Linked DNA regions of Homo sapiens: regions 1 and 2 are each linked to region 3. The links are contacts of gene promoters, found by promoter capture Hi-C in blood cells and fetal thymus (Javierre and others, 2016). All regions are on one chromosome and are shown on one strand. Each heading gives the region's core, a stretch centred on a gene start or on the middle of the fragment in contact. The rest is flanking DNA. Distances are from core to core; before and after follow the strand shown.

What was found. Contacts are between HindIII fragments. The CHiCAGO score rates a contact against its expected background, and 5 or more counts as called.
Region 1: a contact is called between a fragment that was not itself captured here and the fragment with the promoter of DNAAF2 in region 3, in 1 of 17 cell types (non-activated CD4 T cells). The highest score is 5.8, in non-activated CD4 T cells.
Region 2: a contact is called between a fragment that was not itself captured here and the fragment with the promoter of DNAAF2 in region 3, in 1 of 17 cell types (naive CD4 T cells). The highest score is 5.4, in naive CD4 T cells.

What each region holds. Positions count from the first base shown.
Region 1 is chr14:50,538,315-50,543,015 of GRCh38, reverse strand. It overlaps a transcript of MAP4K5 not described here and a transcript of ATL1 not described here. Among named protein-coding and RNA genes, the nearest start is that of MAP4K5, 8.1 kb to the right of the region's middle. The HindIII fragment of the contact is 3,612 bases long and covers 1-3,196 here.
Region 2 is chr14:50,277,848-50,282,260 of GRCh38, reverse strand. L2HGDH (L-2-hydroxyglutarate dehydrogenase) reads left to right here. Exons shown (of 10, transcript NM_024884.3): 6 at 3,707-3,741. Among named protein-coding and RNA genes, the nearest start is that of MIR4504, 20 kb to the left of the region's middle. The HindIII fragment of the contact is 6,330 bases long and covers 1-4,413 here.
Region 3 is chr14:49,633,856-49,638,350 of GRCh38, reverse strand. It overlaps DNAAF2 (dynein axonemal assembly factor 2), which reads left to right and starts at 3,107. Exons shown (of 3, transcript NM_018139.3): 1 at 3,107-4,495. The coding sequence starts at 3,202. RefSeq lists silencers at 3,486-3,535, 3,766-4,005, 4,276-4,495 and enhancers at 3,463-4,223, 4,036-4,275. The HindIII fragment of the contact is 6,803 bases long and covers 1-4,495 here.

The DNA of each region.
Region 1 (4,701 bases), core at 141-2,640, 910 kb before region 3:
AATTTTAAGAATCCATCCATAATACTTCTCCCACTGACTTCCTTATCTCAAATCTTCTTCCTTCCAAGTAATTGACCAACCTATTAGCTACTGTGCATGAATCAGTACAGATCCATACCTCAGATCAGCTCTTCTTCCTAAAAAAGAGGACAACCAGATGTATTGTTCAAAGTTATATCCACTGGGAGAATTTCTCCTCCTATCTTTCAGGGCCACCCCATTATGGTGTGGGCACAGAATTCTGTGGCTCTCTGCTTCAAGTTGGTGCTAGCATATTATGCAGACCATTAATAAACCAAGCCTAAACTTTTTCTTCCCCTGCTAAATGGCTATGAGCCTATAGATAATGGGTTGAAAAAAAAACAGGTGGCAAAGAAGTAAGGGCAGGTCCAATGGACATTTGTTCCATATGATTTACTTGTGTCTTCCAGATCATCTCAGGCCACCTCAGTGTATACTCTTCCATTTGACAACGGAATTCTGCTGCCCATGTTCAACTTACGATCCAGTAAATTAGGTAACATCCAATTTCTTTTATTTTCTTTTATTTTTTTAATTTTACTTTAAGTTCTGGGATACCTGTACAGAATGTGCAGGTTTGTTACACAGGTATACATATGCCATGGTAGTTTGCTGCACCTATCAACCTGTCATTTAGGTTTTAAGTCCCGTATGCATTAGGTATTTGTCCTAGTGCTCTCTCTCCCCTTGCCCCCAACCCCCTCCCCCCGACACCACAGGCCCCCGGTGTGTGATGTTCCCCTCCCTGTGTCCACGTGTTCTCATTGTTCAACTCTCACTTATGAGTGAGAACATGCAGGGTAACTCCCAATTTCTAAAGAGCAGTTAATGTCACATAGTTACTTAGTATCCTGTGGTCAGGAGTCTAGCCTCTACTAAGACCTAGAAGTAAATCAAGAGTTGCCTTTCAAACAGACAATAGCTGTCAGCAGATAACAGCATATTCTTTTTTTTTTTTTTTTTTTTTTTTTTTTTTTTTTTTTTTTTTGAGACGGAATCTCGCTCTGTCGCCCAGGCTGGAGTGCAGTGGCGCGATCTCGGCTCACTACAAGCTCTGCCTCCTGGGTTCATGCCATTCTCCTGCCTCAGCTTCCCAAGTAGCTGGGACTACAGGCACTCGCCACCGCACCCAGCTAATTTTTTGTATTTTTAGAGAGATGGGGTTTCACCGTGATCTCAATCTCCTGACCTCGTGATCCTCCTGCCTCGGCCTCCCTAAATGCTGGGATTACAGGCGTGAGCCACCGCGCCTGGCCAACAGCATATTCTTATACCAAAATCCTAGGGGTCTGCATTGGGATTCTCCTACTGGGGTTGCAAGAGACTCCATACAGTTTCCTGTTTACCATTGGGTCTGCTGAATCCTAAAGCCTAAGTGTCAGGGCAGCTTGCATCATAGCCTTCTCTGTAGTACATTATGTAGTTCCAAGTGATATGAACAAGGTGGCAGTCATACAGGTTACATGGGTCAAAGAGTAGCAAATGCAGTACATTGTCTCAAAATACAAACAGGCCAAACAAACACTGTGCATCTTTAAGGTGGATGATACAAGGTAGAGCACTACTTCCTTGTTAGAAATGTCACTAATGTGTCAGGTTCCTGAACTGGGTTTATCTCTCGTTCTCTGGTATTAGTGGTATTTTTTAAAGTATGTAGGGTGGTTGCTACTTCCTGCTCACAAGGTGCAATTTGCATAATGTTATCAAGATAAAAGACTACCATGATATTCTACTGGATATCAAGGAAACAAAGGTCCCTCTGGAATGATACTCTATCATAGAACAGAAGTCTTTAAATATCCCTGAGGTAGTACAATGACAGTGCTGTTGCAATCATGTGAAAGCAAACTGCTTCTGATTATTTTTGCTGACGGGAATTGAAAAGAAAGCTACTTTCTAGTTTTCAAGTCAATAGCTACCTTCTAGGTGCCAAGAGCTGTTCTGATTTGCTCTAGTAAAGATCCCCCATATGTGGAACCACAACTATGACTAGCATCAACATTTGATTAAATTTTTAATAATCCACATTCTCCAAAACTAATTTGGCTATTGCACAAGCCAAGAGGAGTTAAAAGGAAAAGACTTGTATCTTTCATATCTTTAATGGTGGCACTAATCTCTGTAATTTCCCTGGAGATCAAATTTAATCTTGGTATTCTACTTTGGCATGGGTAAGAAGTTAGCTAGGGAGGTTACACTTGTTCCTACCTATCATAATAGCTCCCTAGAAACCTAATGTAGGAATTCTGCTACTCAATATATCTATACTCACATATATTTTGGGACTGGAAAAATAACTCCAGAGTGGATCTTTAGTCCCACTTGACTTTCTTAAATCTCTACTTTAATCACTGGAATTTTGGCGGTATTTTGAGACTGCAGAGATTATTATTTAGAGCTAATATCAATTAACCTCCAGAATGTATGAGAATCACCCATTCCTTAGCTCACAATCACCCTGGTAAAAGGCTACAAGTACCTCTGGAAATGGCCTTGGGGAAAAGTCACCGTTTATACCTGGCTGCACTATGGGACTCTCCCTCAAAGACATCCGCCCTCACCCTTAATTAAGGGACTCCAGGTTTGTGAATTGGTTTATGTCTAAGATTCAGGTAATATGTCTTGAATCTCTGTTACAGAGATTTCAGTTAGGTTTCTACCAATCAGTCCCAGGATTTTTCCACCTACATATGTCAAATGGCACTTAAGTACGCTGATGGTTTTATTCATTCCTAGAGACTCAGGGATTAATAATAGGATAGCACCACCTATCCTTGCAATCAAAACATCCTGATTTCACTTCTTCCTGAAGGTTATTATAGTAACTGTGCTAAACATGTCTTTGACAGTTGAGCCACCTGACCTCTACCAGGATATAAAATCATGGATCCCAGTTTCAATGTGGGCTCCCAATCATCATCTCTAATCCACTGAGGGCAGCCACAGAAGAATCTTTCGAGGATATCTGTTCTCCCTCATTCAATGCCTTGAAAAGAGTAAATTGTATGGGCCCTCCTGGGCATGGTATGAATAGAGTTTGACTAAGCAGAATGACTATAACAGAGCAAATCCAACATCCCATCTCCCTAAACCTTGAGATTCTTTCTTCTACAGTATGCCAGGGAAATTCTGGCATCTCAGCACATAGATTGTAAGCTATTATTGAGAACAAGCTTCTAGTAACCCACTTAGAAGGACTTCCAGATGCTCAAGTCAACAGAGCAAATCTGAATCCCAGGTAAGTATTTAGCAAGATCCTACAACTTCTTCATTGTATAAGCTCTCCTCCAAGAGCATTCTGTGTACTTCCCCATTAGGGCTATACTGAAACTCTTTCTTCTAACTCATGTTTAAAGTTCTAAGCCTCATTCATATCTGCTCAAATGCCCCCATCCCATGTCATAGGTTCTAGGCCATCTCCACCAGTGCCCTTACTTTAGCATAACAGAACTGGGTCTCACGTTTAATTAACATTGCAACTCCAAAGCCTTTATAGTCAGGCCCTGGACTTGGTCCTCAGCCATATCTTCCCCTTAGCTATGAGAGATAATGGATTTCTTCAAAGCTGTCAAGGAAGTTTTCTGATTTTCTATTCATGCCTGGTATTTGGAACCCAAAGCTATTTGTCTTGTTTTCATGTACTCTCACAGAAGCAGTCAGAAGAGCCAAATGACACAATAATTTTAGTAAACCTCACTGTTACAGCAGCTAAGTGCTAGAGATTGATCTTTCAATGTTGTGCCCTACACTGACACTCCATTTCATGTCACTGCTGATAGTTTGAGTAATTGTGATGCCACTCCATGCTACAGGATACCACTGTTCCATTTTCCTTGGCAAGTAGTTTATACAAGTAATCATCAGATATGTGAGTGATATCATCCTAGAAAGCCATTTTGAGAGTCTCTTTTCTGAGACTAATTCTAATCCCTATAACTTTATCAATCGGGTTTCTGGGAAGAAAAAGCACAGAAAGAGAATATAATAAAAGGACCATTTATAAAAATAAAAGCTGGGCACAGTGGTGCGCACCCATAGTCCCAGCTACTTGGGAGGCTGAGGTAGGTCGATTGCTTGAGGCCAGGAGTTTGAGGCTGTGGTACAGTATGATAGCACTTGTTAATAGCCACTGCATTCTAGCCTGGGCAACAGAGCAAGAACCCATCTCTAATAAATAAATAAATGATTAGATGACAGGGTTAAGCGAATCACCAATAGATAGTGAGGAATCCTGAGATTAGCAACAGTGGAAAGCCATTATTATCCTTGCTCTGCAGAGACAAAGAAAAGGAGAACTTACTGGAATCCTGCAAGAGCTATGCAGCTGTAAGATAGGATCCCAGCCAAGCATTGTAGCTTTTTCTGCTCATAACACTAGTCTACATGAGGTGTGGGCAAACTTTGGGCACCCTTTTGAACATACCTGTTATTGCGTGAGGAAACCAATAAGGAACAGTGTAAGATTATTTGTAATCTGCTATCTTTTCTTAGCTATTGAATTTGCAGACAAAATCAATTTGTGAGTTGAATACAGAAATCCTTCTACCAATTTTCACATAAACCTTAAAACCACTCTGACGATAAAGGTTAACAGAAACAGCTTTTTAACTGTATTAGTCCATTTTCACACTGCTGATAAAGACGTACCCAAGACTGGGCAATTTACAAAAGGAAGAGGTT
Region 2 (4,413 bases), core at 1,723-4,222, 640 kb before region 3:
CGTTCTTTGTCGTAGGGGGCTATCCGGTGCACTGTAGGATGTTTTGTAGTATCCCTGGCTTCTGTCCACTAGATGCCGGTACCATCACGCCCCCAAGTGATGACAATTAAAAATGTCTCTAGGCTAGGTGCAGTGGCTCACACCTGTAATCCCAGCACTTTGGGAGGCCGAGGCGGGCGGATCATGAGGTCAAGAGATAGAGACCATCCTAGCCAACATGGTGAAACCCCATCTCTACTAAAAATACAAAAACTTAGCTGGGCATGGTGGCTCACGCCTGTAGTCCCAGCTACTCAGGAGGCTGAGGCAGGAGAATAGCTTGAACCCGGGAGGTGGAGGTTACGGTGAGCTGAGATCATGCCACTGCACTCCAGCCTGGGTGACAGAGCGAGACTCCGTCACACACACACACAAAAAAAATAAAAAGTATCTCTAAATGTTGGCAAATGTTCTCTTAGAGTTGGGGGTGAAGGAATCACTCCTGGTTAAGAACCATTGCTCCAGACTTACAATTAGACTAGTTTGAACAACCAGGAATAGAGATAAACCAGTAGACTGAAAAAAGGACAAAGAACCATGAACTGAAGAATTTTGAAAGTTCCTATAAAACCAGAATTTTATAACTATGAATGATAATTTATTTTTATTTTATTTATTTTATTTTTTTTGAGATGGAGTTTCACTCTTGTTGCCCCGGCTGGGGTGCAGTGGCATAATCTTGGCTCACTGCAAACTCTGCCTCCTGGGTTTAGGTGATTCTCCTGCCTCAGCCTCCCAAGTAACTGGGATTACAAACATGTGCCACCCCATCTGGCTAATTTTGTATTTTTAGTAGAGACGTGGTTTCACCGTGTTGGCCAGGCTGGTCTTAAACGCTTAACCTCAGGTGATCTTCCTGCCTCAGCCTCCCAAAGTGCTGGGATTACAGGAGCGAGCTACTGCACCCAGCTTGAATGACAATTTATTATACTGCTGGAAAGGAGAGAAAAAAATTTTCATGACATGACATCTCCTTTTTGGCTTGTCTATATATATCAACATGTAAATTAGTCTTCCAGTGTGCTAGACTTTACCACTCCTAAGGAACACATACCATTCTGGAGAATTTTTTTTTTCCTTTTTCTCTCCCTTAGAAGTCTGGACAGCAAATCTAATTGTGAAGTTAAAATTTGCACAAGTACTTTGAGAGGCCAAGGAAGGAGGATCACTTGAGGCCAGGAGTTTAAGACCAGCCTGGGCAACATAGCGAGACCCTGCCTCTACAAAAAATTTTTAAACGTTCACTGGGCATGGTAGCACACACCTGTACTTCCAGCTACTTAGGAGGCTGAGGCAGGAGGATTGCTTGAGCACAGGAGTTTGAGGCTGCAGTGAGCTATAATTGCATCACTGCACTGCAGCCAGGCCGACACAGTGAGACCTTGTCTCAAAAAAATTTTTTTTTTAGGGCTGGGCGCAGTGGCTCGCGCCTGTAATCCGAGCACTTTGGGAGGCCAAGGTGGGTGGAGCGCTTGAGCTCAGGAGTTCAAGACCAGCCTGGGCAACATCGCGAGACCCCATCTTTACTAAACATAAAAATTTTTTTTTAATTAAATAAAATAATTTTTTCTTAATTTGCAAAATCCTATGGGACTCAGATGTACAGCTTACCGGTATAACTATTCAGGTTCTGTATCTCTAAATGGCAAACGTAGTCAGTAGGAAAATTGGCAAACCTGGTGTCTATGTGAAGAGTACAGGACTGAACTGATCCTTTTTATTGATAGCTGTAAATATGTCTATATAAAGCAGTGACCTGGGAGGCGCGTTGGCTCACGCCTGTAATCCCACACTTTGGGAAGCCAAGGCAGGCGGATCACCTGAGGTCAGGAGTTCCAGACCAGCTTGGCCAACATGGTAAAACCCATCTCCACTAAAAATACAAAAATTAGCCGGGTGTGGTGATACGTGCCTGTAATCCCAGCTACTCAGGAGGCTGAGGCAGGAGAATTGCTGGAATCCGGTGGGCAGAGGCTGTAGTGAGCTGATATTGCACCAGCGCACTGCACTCCAGCCTGGGCAACAGAGTGAGACTCTGTCTCAAAAAAAAAAAAAAGCAGTGACCCATGTGGCTCAGTCTTAGAGAGGTGTCAGGGTCACGAAGGAGTAATTTCAAAAGAACTCTTTTGCTTGTATATTTCTTTTTTTTTTTTTTTTCTTTTGAGACGGAGTCTCACCCTATTGCCCAGGCTGGAGTGCAATGGCACGATCTTGGCTCACTCCAATCTCTGCCTCTCAGGTTCAAGCAATTCCCCTGCCTCAGCCTCCTGAGTAGCTGGGATTACAGGCATGCACCACCATGCCCAGCTAATTTTGTATTTTTGGTAGAGATGGGATTTCATCATGTTGGTCAGGCTGGTCTCAAACTCCTGACCTCAGGTGATCCACCCACTTCGGCCTCCCAAAGTTCTGGGGTTACAGGCGTAAGCCACCATGCTCAGCCTGCTTGTATGTTTCAAGAACCATGAAAGGGATCGAAGCAATCTTTTTAAATATGCTTTTTCCTCTTTACTTTCTTCCTTCTTTTTTTTTTTTTAAATAATAAAAAGAGTTGAGGTCTCACTATGTTGTCCATGCTTGTCTTGAACCCCTAAGCTCAAACAACCTGCCCACCTTGGCCTCCCAAAATGCTGGGATTACAGGCATGAGCCACTGTGCTTGGCCCAAAATGCAAATGTTAGCATCACCCATACTTACTGAATCAGACTGTCTGGAAATAGCACCTAGTAATAAGCCTTTAGTGATTCTTAGACACATCCAAGTTTTAGAATGTCAGAATGACAGCCTAAGGTCATAAAATGACCTGGCCATTTGGAACTCCCCCCACCTCATGCCCAGCCCCCACAGTTTAAGAGTTCACTTAGAGTTTGTTTTGTTTTGCTTTGAGGGCATTAATTTTTTTTGTCCAAATGATAGATTTGTGAGCCTTCTATTTGCTGTTGAGAAATTTGAAGGAGAAAAAAAGTAGTGTTCTGTTCTTTCTTCCTTGACAGGTTTTTAAGGAGATCTAAGCCATCTGAATCATTCTGTCTTTCTGAATTCTAAGATGATGAGCAAAATTGTTAAATAATTAAGGTTGTTTTAGGTAGGTAGCATAATAAACCAAATTTGTGATACAAGTAGATTGTATTTATCTGCTCTACATACGCTTTATAAAACTTTGAGATCCCATGTATCTGAGTGGGAACTAATTTTAAAAATGGTCAATTTTTTATTAGAAGTTTTTGTGTTGTGAGAACTCTTGCTTTTCTAAACAACATAGAACCTGCAAGGAATCCAGTAACCAACACTTGGATGACAAGGTTTCTCATATCATAGCTTTAGTCTGTGGGAAAATACATACTGATTTATGATTATCCATTTTACATTGCGGTTTCCAGGATTATAGTTCAGAGAATAGCTATGTCTATATTGGAGGTCAGGTGGCATATGGTTTATAAGCATAGATTAGGTGAATTAAAATCAAGCTAAAAACATGCTGGAGTTTTATATGTTGTTAAGTATGAACTAGTTTAATTGTTATTTGGTAAAAAGTTTCAGAATGAACTGTAAGGTGCAATCATAGTAATGACAGAAAAAGGTTATTTAAGTTTGTTTCTAGTATGATATTTCAAATAATGTTGGCCTTTTGCTAAAAATAAATTTTTCACTTATTCTTTTTTTTCAGGAATGCAATATCCAATTGTTATAAAGAATACAAAGGTAAAGATTCTTAAGCAAAACTGCTGGCTACTTTCTTTCCCTCCCCTTTATTAAAAATTAAATTAACCCACAGGGCTGTATTTTAAGTTATTGAATGACATTTGTCTAATGTAATTCTGAGAGAATTTCTTTTAGGGAAGTTTAACAGCTTTTATTCTAAGGAGGGTTTCAACTTGGGAATGTCCTAATTAAGTGGCTCTGCTGGCAAAGAACAGGATTATAAGCATATGGAGTGTTTAATTTTAAGGCAAAACTAATATTTTATCACTCTATCTACTGATCTCCACTAACTTATTAACTCTCTATAAATCAGAAGACTTCGGAAGAGGGAGTATGCAGGTTGTCCAGAGGGAGATGGACTGCTTTTATTCATCTTCACATGGACCTAAAGCAAGAACCACTGAATGGCATAGAAGCAGTGGATTCCCTGTAGGTTCGCTGCATCAAGTTGTACTCAAGGGAGCAGAGTCATTAATGAGTGCTATAGGATTTATTATAGGAATAAGACCTTACACAATTGTGGAAGTTTCTGGGAAAGCATAGATTCAGAAGAGAGTTGATGGATCAGTAATTGGGAAACAGAGCTGAATGCGGAGCTGGAATTCACTGGACAGTGGGTATCTGTCTGTCACCTCATTGGACTAGGATGACCTTCAGAGAATAATACCTGCT
Region 3 (4,495 bases), core at 1,858-4,357:
TTCCTGTAATCCCAGCACTTTGGGAGGCCGAGGAGGGTGGATCACCTGAGGTCAGGAGTTTGACAGCAGCCTGGCCAACGTGGCGAAACCCCGTCTCTACTAAAAATAGAAAAATTAGCCGGGCGTGGTGGTGGGCATCTGTAATCCCAGCTACTCGGGAGGTTGAGGCAGGAGAACTGCTTGAACCTGGGAGGCGGAGGTTGCAATGAGCTGAGATTGTGCCACTGCACTGCAGCCTAGATAACAAAGGGAGACTCTGTCTCAAAAAAAAAAAAGTACATTTTTTAACTCTAAAAGTATAAGATACATAAAATCTACTGTCAGCGTACAGCACAATGAATTTCACAAATTGCACACCCAATGTAACCAAGATTAACAGACCCTCACCCAGAAGCTCTCCCAACATGGCCATCACTAGCTTGGCTTAACAGATTTATTTTGCCATGTTTTGTCTATTATATGACAGAGTCATATGTATTATTTTACATCTGGTTTCTTTCAAGCACCATTATGTTAATGATACTCATCTATACTGTTGAGTAGTGCATTGTGTGGGTGGATATTTACATTTATCCATTCTACTATGAATGAGAATTTGGGTTGCTTCCAGAATTTGTCAACTATGAAATAGTGCCGCTATGAATACACACATTGTAGTACATGTGTTTTGGTGGGGATATGTGTTTCTGTTGAATGTGTATCTGGGAGAATTTCATTGTCGTAAGCCTTATGTTAACAGTGTTCCAATATATACTCCCAGGATATGAAAGTGCAATTGCTGGCTGGGCATGGTGGCTTGTGCCTGTAATCCCAGCACTTTGGGAAGCCGAGGTGGGCGGATCACCTGAGCTCAGGAGTTGGAGACCAGCCTGACCAACATGGTGAAATCCCATCTCTACTAAAAAATACAAAAATTAGCTGGGCGCAGTGGTAGGTGCCTGCAATCCCAGCTACTTGGGAGGCTGAGGCAGGAGAATTGTTTGAACCCAGGAGGCGGAGGTTGCAGTGAGCCAAGATCGCGCCAAAGCACCCCAGTCTAGGCGACAGAGCAAGACTCTGTCTCAAAAAAAAAAGCAATGCAACTGCTTCACATCTTTGTTAATTACCTATATAATAAGTGCAATAAGCACACAATAAATATCTGTTGAAAGGACTAATTTGAACACAGATGGCATTTAAAACTATGGGCTTGGATAAGACATCTTGGAAGAAATGTGATTAGGTAAGAGGGCTGATGAACAAAGCCTTGGGCAACTCCCACATTTGCAGAACTGGCAGGAGCATAAAGGAGGAAAATGGGAGAGCTTGGAGTTCTGCAAAACATGAGAAAAATGTGTTTCGAAGGGGCAGTCAACTGCTTTGAATGCTTCCAAGAGACCATAAGATAAGGCAGTGGTTTGGGAAAAGAGGATTCAGGAGTTCTGATCTTGGTCATTTCAAGCCTGAGTAGCTTATGCATTAATCACTCAAATGGACACCTCAAACGTGCAGCTGGATATAGGAGTGTAAAATCTGAGTCTAAGACAAGTATTTGTGAGTGTAAATATATTTCTGAAGGAGAGTATAGATGGGTAAGAGATTGGGTCCCAGTTTTGGGGCATTTCCATGTAGAAGTTGAAAAGAAGTAGATACCTACAGAGCAAAACTATGAGAGTGATGAGACAGAAGAGAAATCTGGAAAGTGTCTTGTCACTGAGGTAATGCCAACATCAACTGTGTTAAATGTTGCTGAGAATAGAAAAATGATCACTGAATTGACCAATTACCAATGAATAAATAATTACTCCAGTAAATAAATATACTTCCATATGATCATTTTGAATGGTTGCACAAAACTCTGTTGCGTGGCTCTACCAAAACCTGCTCAATCAGTTCCATTGTTGAATTTGTAGATTCTTCTCAAACCTTTAGAATCATAAATGATGTCACCTTGAGAATGTTCTAAGAGTATTGTGTCAAATACTCTAAGGGCATTTGGGTCAAAAAAATATGCACATTAGAAAGGTTTTAGGCCGGGCGCGGTGGCTCATGCCTGTAATCCCAGCACTTTGGGAGGCTGAGGTGGGCAGATCACATGAGGTCAAGAGTGGGAGACCAGCCTGGCCAACATGGTGAAATCCCATCCCTACTAAAAATACAAAACTTAGCCGGACGTGGTGGTGAGTCACTGTAATCCCAGCTACCTGGGAGGCTGAGGCAGGGAGAATTGCCTGAACCCGGGAGGCGGAGGTTGCAGTGAGCCAAGACTGCACCACTGCACTCCAGCCTGGGTGACAGAGTGAGACAGCCTCAAAAAAAAAAAAAAAAAAAAAAAGGTTTTGGACCTGGTGTGGTGGCTCATGCCTGTAATCCTATAATCCCAGCACTCTGGGAGGCCGAGGCGGGCGGATCACGAAGTCAGGAGATCGAGACCATCCTGGCTAACACGGTGAAACCCTGTCTCTAGTAAAAATACAAAACATTAGCTGGGCGTAGTGGCAGGCGCCTGTAGTCCCAGCTGCTCGGGAGGCTGAGGCAGGAGAGTGGCGTGAACCTGGGAGGTGGAGCTTGCAGTGAGCCGAAACTGCGCCACTGCACTCCAGCCTGGGTGACAGAGCGAGACTCTGTCTCAAAAAAAGAAAAACAAAACAAAACAAAACAAAGTACGGTGGTGGGTTGGTTTGAAGAATCTAAGAGGGCTATTTCTGGCATTTCCACTATTCCACCATGATTTCCTTGAGAGACTTGCTCTGTCGCCCAGGCCGGAGTGCAGTGGCGCGATCTTGGCTCACCGCAAGAGCTCTGCCTCCTGGGTTTCACCCCATTCTACTGCCTCAGCCTTCCGAGTAGCTGGGACTACAGGCACCCGCCACCATGCCCGGCTAATTTTTTGTATTTTTAGTAGAGACGGGGTTTCACCGTGTTAGCCAGGATGGTCTCGATCTCCTGACCTCGTGATCCGCCCGCCTAGGCTTCCCAAAGTGCTGGGATTACAGGCCTGAGCCACCGCGCCCGGCCTATTCCACCATGATCTCTACCCCTCCTCCCGAATGTTAGTGGTGTAACTATGACAACAAGCACGCGCTGCTCAAGGCTCAATTTTCCAGCCGTTACCGACCTCCACCGCGTCACTGTACGCTGCCCAGAAACTCTGAGGCGGATCCCCCAACCCAGTGTCAGACTGATCGCCTTTGGCCCGAGGGCGAGGAGCCACAGGACAGTATGGCCAAAGCGGCGGCCTCCTCGTCGCTGGAGGACTTGGACCTGAGCGGAGAGGAGGTCCAGCGGCTCACCTCCGCCTTCCAGGACCCGGAGTTCCGGCGAATGTTCTCCCAGTACGCCGAGGAGCTCACCGACCCGGAGAACCGGCGGCGCTACGAGGCGGAGATCACCGCGCTAGAGCGTGAGCGCGGGGTGGAAGTGCGGTTCGTGCACCCGGAGCCCGGCCATGTGCTGCGCACCAGCCTGGACGGGGCGCGGCGCTGCTTTGTGAATGTCTGCAGCAACGCGTTGGTGGGCGCGCCCAGCAGCCGGCCCGGCTCCGGTGGCGACCGGGGCGCAGCTCCTGGCAGCCACTGGTCCCTGCCCTACAGCCTGGCGCCCGGCCGCGAGTACGCGGGGCGCAGCAGCAGCCGCTACATGGTCTACGACGTGGTCTTCCATCCAGACGCGCTTGCGCTGGCCCGGCGGCACGAGGGCTTCCGCCAGATGCTGGACGCCACGGCCCTGGAGGCCGTCGAGAAGCAGTTCGGCGTGAAGCTGGACCGCAGGAATGCCAAGACCCTGAAGGCCAAGTATAAGGGGACCCCAGAGGCTGCGGTGCTGCGCACGCCCCTGCCCGGGGTCATCCCCGCAAGGCCTGACGGGGAGCCGAAGGGTCCTCTCCCGGACTTCCCCTACCCTTACCAGTACCCGGCAGCCCCCGGGCCCCGGGCGCCCTCCCCTCCGGAAGCGGCCTTGCAGCCCGCCCCCACCGAGCCTCGCTACAGCGTGGTGCAGCGCCACCACGTGGACCTCCAGGATTACCGCTGCTCCAGGGACTCAGCCCCGAGCCCCGTGCCCCATGAGCTGGTGATCACCATCGAACTGCCGCTGTTGCGCTCGGCCGAGCAGGCGGCGCTGGAGGTAACGAGAAAGCTGCTGTGCCTCGACTCGAGGAAACCTGACTACCGGCTGCGGCTCTCGCTCCCGTACCCAGTGGACGATGGCCGCGGCAAGGCACAATTCAACAAGGCCCGGCGGCAGCTGGTGGTTACGCTGCCAGTGGTGCTGCCGGCCGCGCGCCGGGAGCCCGCTGTCGCCGTCGCCGCCGCCGCGCCGGAAGAGTCCGCGGACCGGTCCGGAACTGACGGCCAGGCCTGCGCTTCCGCTCGCGAGGGGGAGGCGGGACCCGCGAGGAGTCGCGCGGAGGACGGAGGCCACGATACCTGCGTGGCTGGGGCTGCGGGCTCCGGGGTCACCACCCTGGGCGACCCGGAGGTGGCGCCTCCGCCGGCCGCAGCTGGAGAGGAGCGTG